2 separate regions of the Homo sapiens genome follow, and region 1 is linked to region 2. The links are contacts of gene promoters, found by promoter capture Hi-C in human tissues and cell types (Jung and others, 2019). All regions are on one chromosome and are shown on one strand. The core of a region is centred on a gene start or on the middle of the fragment in contact, and the rest is flanking DNA. Distances in the headings are between cores, read along the strand shown.

What was found. Contacts are between HindIII fragments. The study calls those that stand out against the background at their distance.
Region 1: a fragment that was not itself captured here is called in contact with the fragment with the promoter of ADNP2 in region 2 in 2 of the 25 tissues and cell types used here (dorsolateral prefrontal cortex and lymphoblastoid cells).

The regions. Positions count from the first base shown.
Region 1 is chr18:79,913,615-79,918,849 of GRCh38, forward strand. All of the region lies in intron 5 of SLC66A2 (solute carrier family 66 member 2), which reads right to left. Among named protein-coding and RNA genes, the nearest start is that of SLC66A2, 35 kb to the right of the region's middle. The HindIII fragment of the contact is 9,290 bases long and covers 1-5,235 here.
Region 2 is chr18:80,107,926-80,113,192 of GRCh38, forward strand. ADNP2 (ADNP homeobox 2) reads left to right here and starts at 1,337. Exons shown (of 4, transcript NM_014913.4): 1 at 1,337-1,547. RefSeq lists enhancers at 1-261, 1,088-1,589 and silencers at 1,399-1,558, 1,759-1,858. The HindIII fragment of the contact is 8,526 bases long and covers 1-3,636 here.

The DNA of each region.
Region 1 (5,235 bases), core at 2-2,501, 190 kb before region 2:
GCATGGAGGCAACTGTGCATGCCGGCCTGTGCACGTGTGTGCAAGTACACGAGACACAGGACTTTCCAGAAGCAGGGCTGCTACGAGATCAACTCGGGAATTCTTGAGTCACTTCCTATCAAACATCCTAGAGACCTTCGGTTTAATGTGGAGCTGAGGCTGTGGGTCCCAGGGAAGATTCCAGGCAGCATCTACGCCTCCCTCACCTAGGGCAGTGGCACTAGCAGGTCCCCAGAGAAAAGGAGCTGAAGTTCAGGCTGTCACGTTTCAGGCTCATGTCACCATTCGCCACCAAAGTCTTGTTTGTTTTTTTACATGGAGTCTCACTCTGTTGCCCAGGCTGGAGTGCAGTGGCGCGATCTTGGCTCACTGCAACCTCCGCCCCCCAGGTTCAAGTGATTCTCCTGCCTCAGCTTCCTGAGTAGCTGGGATTACAGACGCCTGCCACACCTAGCTAATTTTTGCATTTTTAGTAGAGACAGGGTTTCACCATCTTGGCCAGGCTGGTCTTGAACTCCTAACCTTGTGATCCACCTGCCCTGGCCTCCCAAAGTGCTGGGATTACAGGCGTGAGCCACCGCGCCCAGCCCAAAGTCTTGGTTTTTTGGGTATCTGTTAAGTACGTGTGTGTGCACATTTTAAATACGTCATCTTAAACACGACCCTGGAGATTATACAGGAAGCACACATGATCTATCAAACCTGCATTCAGAAACCACTACCCACAATGGCTTCAAGAATCACAACTCCTGACAGGGCTGGGGATACCACGACGCCCCCATCAGGCAGATCGGAGCACAAAGGAACCTGAGACGTCTCTGACCTGCCTCCAGATGGGGGGTGGTCTGACAGCAGGAAGTGGGGGGTCACTCCAGCCCACCCCAAGGCTGCCGTGGCCCCGGAGGAACAGGCAGGTACCACAGGAGCACCCAGGAAGTGGCAAAGGGGAGAGACACCCCCTTGCCCAAGCTGCGTCTGGAGAGCGAGTGGAACCCAGGCCGGGGAGGGCTGAAGATCCACGGAGCGGTGGCCTGGACCCATGCGGAGAAGCCAGAAGACCACACAGCAAGGGGGGCAGAGGTGGGGACCCTGTGCCCCACAGGCTGCAGTGCCAAGGGAGGAAGGTGGGCAGGGCCCACAGGCCCAAAGAGACGGAGCTTCAGACGCGCAAGTGGAGCCGGCTCCAGACTCAGCCCTGCCCAGAGGGAGCCTCAGGAACAGCCCCCAGGTCGCCGGCCCTAGCCCTGCAGGCCCTGCCTTGCCCAGGCTGCCAGGTGGCGTCTCAGGTTGTGGAAGGCAGCTGCTGGGCCTCCAGAATTCACACTCGGGTGATACTAAAACCCAGGGCCAAGGTGAAACGCGGCGTCAGAGCAGCAGAAATAAGGACGTGCGGCACAAAGGCTGGGCCTGGAGTGGTCCTGTTCCCTTTCCCGTTTAGTGAGAACCCTCCCAAAACCTTCCCTCAGGCCATGCAGAGGCAACGTCCCCACAAGCAGACCCCAGACTTTGCCTGGCTGGCAGGCATGGGGTCAGGCTGGCTGTGCGTTCTAGCAGCAAACGCCTTATGTGTTCCAGTGGGAAAACCGCCCGATGGTCACTCTTAAAAGCGCAGACCGGATGAACTGGGCCTGGGGAGGGCTGAAGCTCCCGGCAGCACGGGCGGGGCCAGCCCCACCCCCTCCGCATCCCCCCAGGGCCCGCCCTGTCCCCTCCCCATCCCCCCGGGGCCAGGCCAGGGCCTCAGTGCACAGACTCTCCGGGGCGCTCATTACCGTAACTACAACCACACACTCCATCACTCCGAGCCGACCCGACGCTGCTGCTCCTGGTCCCCGTTCCTGACGAGGATGCACAGGGTCTCAGCGGTCCCGCACTTGAAGCTGGCTGACCTCGCTGCCTACTTCCTCCGCAGAGACTGCTCCATCTCCCTCAGCCTCAGGACTCCATCCAAGCCCTCACAACGTGCCAGCTGTGTGGGTCGCCCGTCTTCTGCCCGGCCCTCCCGGCAGGGACAGAGGCCAAGCCTCCTGTGGCCCGATGGGGAGATGGGGTGCCTGTGACATCCCGTCCCCAGCCACACCTGAGGTTTATAAAAGCAGAAGTTAGCCCAGGTGATCTCACAGGGGCTTGGCACTCACCCAGGGAGCAGGGCAAACTCAGAGGTAGAACACCTGCACCTCCTGGGATCCCTGAGACACGTTCCAAGTTCCGCAGCCAAGGAGAAGTATGCAGGCAAAGGACCATGACCCCGGCTCCCATCTCGCCCACACAGCACCCCCAATACTATTTTACATGTGTGTAAGTGTATCCGCATCCCACACACACGGGTTTTCATCCACGGTTCCAGGGTGCTAACTCCCACAGTGCTTCTGTACCCGCGGTGCTCTCATAGCCGCAGTGCTCCCGTACCCTCCCATACCCACGGTGCTCCCGTACCCATGGCGCTCCCATACCCACAGCGCTCCCGTACCCACGGTGCTCTCATACCCGCAGTGCTCCCGTACCCTCCCATACCCACGGTGCTCCCGTACCCGCGGCGCTCTCGTACCCGCAGTGCTCCCGTACCCTCCCATACCCACGGTGCTCCCGTACCCGCGGCGCTCTTGTACCTGCGGCACTCCCGTACCCGTGGTGCTCTCATAGCCGCAGTGCTCCCGTACCCGTGGTGCTCCCGTACCCGTGGTGCTCCCGTACCCGTGGTGCTCCCGTACCCACAGTGCTTCTGTAGCTCTTGTCATGACGTTGGGGTGCTTTAGGCCTCAGAAAACAGAATCTCTCTGACCTTTTGCCCTCTGTTCACCTGCCCAGGCAGGACTCTAACCCTCATTCCAGAGAGGGTCCTGCCGACATCCTGGAGGAAGGAGCCTGCACAGAGGACAGAAGAATCTCAACAGACCCTGCTGGGTTCACGTCGCACCCTTAGGTCCAATCACATTTCAACACCATTGTCCATCACGCCTATCCAATGAGGTCTCCCAAGTAGACAGGCTTTGGGAGGCTCCGGGGAGAGCTGAATTTGCGGGAGCCGGCAGGAGAGTGAACAGGAGCTCATCTGTGTGCCGTGAGGGCGGCAGCCCCACTCCACGAGACCGAGCTCCTGCCTGGGGACCCCTCCACAGCTCCCTCTGTGTATCCCCTCACTCGGCGGTTTATGTCTGTCCTTTAAAATGCTCTTTGTAAAATATCAGCAACCGTGTTTCCCAGAGCTCTGTGAGCCGCTCCAGCAAGCTGACAGAGCCCAAGGAGGGGTCATGGAACCCTAACATGGCCCAGAAGTTCCAGAGGCCCAGATTTGCGATGGGTGTCTAAGTGTGGGTGGCATCTGGCGCTGTCTCTGGGTCAGGACAACCGGCGGTGCCCGCCGCAGGACCGACTGCCTGCTCGGTGCTGGGGAGACGCCTGCACATGGAAGTGTGTGTGCTGCTTGTGGTGAAGTGAGTGAGAACAGGAAAAGCACGTCCAATGTGTTTCTTCCACACACAGACCCCCCTTCCACAGGCGTTTCTGGAGCCTTCCCCGTGTGTGAGAAGAGCAGACCTCAGGGCCTAAGACAGGCCTGCCTGCAGGGCCGCCTCGGCCAGCATCTGGAAACTCGGGTTTGAAGAGGATTCCCACGTCCCCCCAGCTGACGGGGCAGCCCCTGGGCTGAGACCTTGAACAACATGCCTGCGCTGAACAGCAAAACCTGCTACCCTGGAATCGAGAGCAACAGCTCCTGCCAAGCCTGGGGCCCCTGTGAGGTCACACACGGCCAGCTCCTTGTGAGGGGCCAGGAGGCCGGCATGTGGGGTCCGGATCCGCTAGACCCTCACCACGAGGCTGTGGTGATGCTCTGGAGGGCACAGGCCTGGCACCCAGGCACCTCCCACAGATCTCCAGGTCGCAAGCTCGGCACGCGGGCACTGCCCACAGGATCTCCAGCTGTGGGGTGGCTGGGGACGCCACACTCCGCCGGACAAGGCCCACGTCCAGCCGGGGAGCCTACATACGACGCCCGCCCTGAGACCCACTTTCTCTCTGGGAGCATCCCTGCCTTTTGGGCTCCACACCGAAGCCCTCAGGGCTGCCACTGCCCAACCCAACAGTGAGGGAGCCTGTTCCAGCCATGGACACCCTCTCGGGCCTCCATGCACCCTCGCCCGAGAAACCCCAGCAACCCCCCTGGTCTTGATTCACTGTAATCACACCAACCAGGGCAGCCCAATCCCCACCTGCACCCCACACCACACCCCAACCTGTACCTACCTCACACCATGCCAGCACCCCACACCTGACCCATGCCCCACACCTCTACCTACAGCCCACACCGGAACTCCATACCCCACACCCCAGCCCACACCTACACTTCACATCTGTGCCTATGTCCCACACCCACACCTACGCCACACACCTGTAACTGCAACCCACACCTATAACCCTGGCCTGCACCTACATCTCACCCCCTACCACCACCCCACACCTACGACAAGCCCTCCTACCTTTACCTCTCACGGGCAACTGAACCTACACACAACCCCCGGCCCTCACACCTCTGCCCACACGCCAAACCTGCAAATACTCAGAGGTCTCTGAAAGCCCTCAAGAGAGTGCTGTGGCCCCTGGGCACCCGTTCTCCAACACAAAAACGCGTCAGCCCCTCTCTTCCAGGCTGTTTCCCACAAATAACAAATCCAAGAATAACATTCCCTCCAAATCACAGCCTCAGCATCTGTATTGGAGACCAGACTCAAGCAACGTGTGGGGGCTCAGGGTGTTCTCCGTGAGGAGCGGGCACCGGGGGGCGGATCCCCAGTGAGGAGCGGGCCCGGGGGGGGGTCCCCAGTGAGGAGCGGGCACCGGGGAGGGTCCCCAGTGAGGAGCGGCACCGGGGGGTCCCCAGTGAGGAGCGGGCCTGGGGGTCGAAAGTGTGAGGGACTAGAGTTTTCTGCCCCCGCCACAGCGAGCAGATCTGTTTTTATTACAATGCAGTTTCCATCCAGGACCTTGACTGAGCCCGTGGGCATCATGCTGCTCGCGTTGTGCCCTACCTCTGGCGGTCACGGGGACGTCCAGGCACGCACTGGTGCAGGGCGCCCAGGCATGGTCTGTGGTTCCGAACGTCAGCCTGCCCAGCCTTCTACCACATACCTCAGAGGCCGGAGGCCGTGCTGGGGCCAGTGGGGAAAGACCGAGGACAGTGTCCAAGGCAGCCCCCAGACCACCTTCCCTGCCCCACCAGACCCGCCCTGACCCTGG
Region 2 (5,267 bases), core at 87-2,586:
ATGTAGGAAAAAAGCAAATTTTGGTCAGGTCATATCGGCCCACCATTTAACACAGTTTTAAAACGAATATGGACATTAATTTAGTGCCTATTATGTGTTTAGTCACTGGGCTAAACTGAGCAGAAGGCTCCCATTGAGAGGGAAAAGCTGAAATTATGGACGAGCGGATGGTGACAAGGAGGCTCTGGAGAGGGCGGTGGGCGGAAGGCCCAGCCTGGGCACGGCCTCTGCCCCGCGGTGGCTGGAGTGGGCCTCAGGGCTGGAGGCTGGCGGCGGGTTGCAGGGGCTCGGCGCTCTGGAAGGAGACGTGGCCTTGTGCTGAAAGGGGCACGTGTCCTGCAGACGGCTTCGCCAAGAAGGAACTGCCTGGAACAGCCACTGAGGGCGCGGCTGAGTTAGGGTCAGGGGAAGGAACACTGGAGGGGAGTTAGGGTCAGAGTCAGGGTTAGTGCTAGGTGAGGTTCAGGTGCAGGGTCAGAATTAGGGTTAAGGTTAGGGGCACTGGGGGAGGCGCCTGCGCTGCCCTCGTGGTTACTCCCACGTGCTCTGGGGCACGAGGGCGTCCGCCAGAGGCCTGGGGACTCCACGGAACGAAGACCTAGAGCCATTTTGAAAGCCCTACGCCATGTTTCCACTAATTTTGTGGAATAAATTATTATTGCTACACAATTGATAAACACCTGTGCAAAAATGAACTTTTAGGTTAAGAGTTTATACAAATGTATGCAATTAACCCTCTCCCCACACAACTTGTAGTAGATCTAAAAATCAGAATTCTCAAGAGAAGGTGTGATCACTTTCCCACAGGAATGATGAAGTCAGGAGACCCCAGCTAGTCGGTTCACCAGGATATGCCAATCATGGCACACTTGTCCCAGTTCTGGGAGCCAAAGTTTTGTCTTCCAATGGCAAGGCAGCATTATCACAGTTGGGCTCCCATTGGCTCTGAGATGTGGGCGGGGTCACCACTCCTGGAGCTGCCACTAGCTCCACCCCATTCCATGCAAATGAAGTCAAAGCTGTGGTGAGTCCACGTGATTAGTCACATGGTTGATGACACACTCTCCCCACCCCTTTAGTGACGTCATTGCCCACTCAAACTCTCACGAGAGTTTGCACAGATGTGGAAAGGAGCTGGCAGGGCAGTTCCCTGGGACAGAAGGGAGTCAGGGGGTCCAACAGGGGCCCCCCACTGCCACCCCAGAGCCTCCAGTCCATCTTTAGCCAGGGGCCCCGGGGGGCCTGTGGGAAGTGCCAGGGGCCCCCAAGCACACTCTGCTCTCATTGGCTGGCTGCGCCTACATGCAAATGAGGGCCAACGTCACTTCCTGAGGCCAATCGAGCGCCATTTTCTCTTTCTGGCTGCGCGGGAGGAGGGGACCAGTCGCGCTGGGGGTGGGCGCGCGCTGAGGCGGGGGTCCCGCCGCGCGGGGCGGAGGCGCGGGCGGGCGCAGGCGGCCCCACGGGACGCGGCTGCGCTCGGCGGAAGACGCGGCAGCCCTGCGAGAGGCAGCAGCGGAGACGCGGTGCTCCTCGGGCGCCAAGCGGTAGGTACGGCCCGGCCCGGCGCGGGCCCGCGCGGCGACGCCCCCTGCCCCGGTCCTGGCCCCCGCCCCAGTCTGGTCCCCTCCGAGCCCCGCCCCCGCCGGTACCCAGCCCACACCCACGCCCGCCGCCTGCCCTCGCGCCGCCCGTGGCCGCCTCGGGAATCCCGGGACGTTCTCAGGGCGCGGGTTCGCGGCCCGAACGGCGCCCGTCGACCCCCGACGCGCCCGCGGCCCGCCCCGCCCGCCGCCGGTCACGTGGGAGCGGGGGCCGCCCCGGGAGGGCGGAGAAGGGGATGGGGACCTGAGGGGAGAGTAGGAATAGGGGAAAGACGAGGACGGGGACCGAGGGAGAGAGGGGGGCTGGTGAAGGGAGCGAGGAGTAGAGGGAGAGGGAACGGGGATGGAGAAGAAGAGAGGGGGCAAGGAGCTGTGGCGACCCCTGTAAGGACTCCAGAAACGCCCCGCCCGCTGGCCCGCCCGCCGCATCCCCGAGACCGGGTTCTCCTGGAAGCTTCTCTCTGGAGGAGCCTTGAGTGACGGCAGATGTAGGTCAGGAGCTGACGGTGACACCTAAATCTGCCCAGGTTTTTTTTTCCCTAGAAAGGTTTGAAGAACAGCTGATAACGGGGCCCTGTTTCTTCATCGTTGAGCTTTTGATGCGAATATCAATAATTGATATACAGATGTTGACTTTAACATTACTTTTCATCTGCCGTTGCTGGTTGCATTGAAATAGATTCCGTTTACAAAATTTCTACTACAGTTGACTTTGGAATGTTAATTTTAACTGCCCTTTTAAATACTGTACAGATGCAGAATGAGAAATAATTAGATATTTTAAGTAGTTTATTTGAACAGAAGACTTGCCTGCGTGCTTAAAACTTACTCTATTTGCACGGGTAATCACTGCCTCTTGGGATCTTGAGGAATATACTGGCTGTGGAGGAGTGGGGTGGGGGAGGAGAAACTGGTAAGCAGGTAACTGACAATGCAGATTGGCAAGTGGGGCAGCAGTTTGTAGAGTACTGTGGGCATCTGCCACGCAGAGCCTTTATCAAAAGAGGGGGTTTGGAGTCTGGGTACCATTTTTGGGGGTGAGGAGCATTAGTGGGAGAGAGGACCACATGTAAAAAGAGTTGTGTAAAGTACATGTTCAGCTGTATTTGGAAGTCGGTAATGTATGTGTAACTTATTTAAAGATGTTCTTGGAGAGTTGGCCATGTATGAGTGTGTATTAATATTTCGGTTAAATTTCGGTTGGAGTTAGGACTTCACTGCGAAGACAGCATTGAGCCCGTCGTCCTTAAACATGAAGTGACAGATGTGTGTTAAGAAAGGAAGTACAAGAGTGAAGATGAGACAAGAGGTTGTCCTACCGGCCCTCTAGTTGAGGGGAGGAACAGTGAGGGTTAGGACATGTCTGAAAGGAGTTGATCACTGTTTATGGGGGAAGATGACAGCTATGCTAAGATTTTTAGCTGAAGAGATTCTGGGATTTGGGAGACACGTTTTTAATTTGAACCCAAGTTTGCAATATGCTGTTGGTTAATTTATGATTGCCCTCATAAGTTCACCAATAGCATATTGCAAACTTGGTTTCTGCCCTGCCCTTCATCCTCTGGCTATCCTAGACCTGTTAGGGCAATGTGTTACATAGGTGGAAACCGGTATCTCCCAGTGATTTGAACCCAGATCTGCTGAATATATGATCCAAGTATTCTGTGTTTTTAAAGTTGCTTTTTAAAAAGTCCTGTATTCCAATAGTTGGGACATTTCATTTAGTTTTTTGGAGTTAATTAATAGCAAACTCAGTGCTTATGTGCTGTTTTGCATGTATTAACTCATTTATCCTCATAACTACTCTGTGAATTAGGTCATACTCGCCCTGTTTTACAGAAGAGCCAGCTGAGGCCTGGAGAGAGTAAGTGATTTCCTGAAGATTACACAGCTCATAAATGGTGGAGCTGATGTAAACCCGGGCACACAACTCCAGAATCCTTTTTGGTGACCATCGTTTTGTGCGATTTCACAGGAACTAAAAAAAAGTTCTGTGGCTTAAAAAGTATTGTTTATTACTGTATTACCTGAATGACATTTTTTTTTTTTTTTTTTGAGACGGAGTTTTGCCCTGTCGCCCAGGCTGGAGTGCAGTGGTGTGATCTCGGCTCACTGCAACCTCTGTCTCCCGGGTTCAAGCGATTCTCCTGCCTCAGCGTCCCGAGTAGGACCCAGCCAATTTTTTGGTAATTTTTAGTAGAGACAGGGTTTCACCATATTGGTCAGGCTGGTCTCCAACTCCTGACCTCAGGTGATCTGCCCGCCTTAGCCTTCCAAAGTGCTGGGATTACAGGTGTGAGCCGTTGCACCCGGCCAACATTTTCTTTTAGAATGTATTTTTTTTTCTATAATAGAATATCCTTACGAGATCATTATACTAAAAAATCCCCAGAGAAGTCCTTTATGTACCCTTTTGGGAAATAATATTTTCTTGTGCATATCAGTGGAATTTTATGGTAGTTCCATGCCTACCCTAAACATTAGGAATTGAGATTTATTTTGAATTGAAATTGATAGGTTGGTGCATGATGTGGAAATAGTTGGCCGCCCCGGTTAGCCTGCTGTTTTCTAATGGTGAAAATACAGATTTTACTGAGCTCTAAGATTCTATGGAGAACAGTATCTATAGAGGATCTATAAATATGAAAACATTGAACTATTTCATAGTTAATTCATCCACTGGGCATTTTACATGGAATATTTTATCTTAGGATTGATAAATTATGCTATAAGAATGGATCTAAGAATGAATAAATTGTGGTAGCTTAGAATGGATAAATTATGGGTAAAAGTCAGCTTCCCATCCCCAAAGTGGTTGGCAACAGTTATGAAACCTGTAATTTACTTGCATTTTATTTTTTATCCTTTGTTGGTTTCCCTAAAGCAGTTAGGAAACTGCTAAACAAAAAAAAAAAGGAGGGGGGAACTTTTCCCCCTCCTTTTTTTAAATGAAAAGGTATTTGTGTGCTTGTGTTTTGTTTTGTTTAGAAGGGCCACAATAACGATGAAGGAATGGAAGCACTTTCATTTGAGAATAAAAAGTTCCTATTTTTCAAATTCAAGGGAAAAAAATAAAAAAGTGACAACTCCTTGGCCCTAGTCCCAAGCCTTGAACAAGTAACCACAGACCCCTGCCCAATCTCTGAGAGCCTCATTTTAGTAACCCCTTTCTGAGGTTCATGTATGTACAACCATGCTTACATGAATCAGCCAATCCCCAATCACTCTGCTTTTAAAAGTCCACCAGTCTTTGTATCCCAGGCTTCTCAAAACTCTGTGATAAGATCAGCTCTGGCTGTGTGAGTTGAGATTTTCTTGGAAGCAGTAAATTTAGCTTCCCTGTTTCAGATACATATGGATGATGGTCCCTACTTTAGACAACACTGTTTGTCAGCCAGCTTTTGGAGAAGAACCCCAGAGGATAGAGAGGATAGTGGAACTTTAAGGAGGAAATGAAATCAAGTCTGATAGAGTCCCTGGAAAGCAGCTAACAAAATTTTCGTTGAGTTTTGCTCTGACCAAAGAAGCTGGACTGGGCCAGAAAGTGACCTTGAGCTTAGTGTTTAGAAATGCATAATGAGGTTATGGCAGCTCTTGTGTGAGAGTGTAAGCTTTTGAAGGCTAGAACCCAAATCAGTGCATTTTATTAAAGAAAATTTTTAA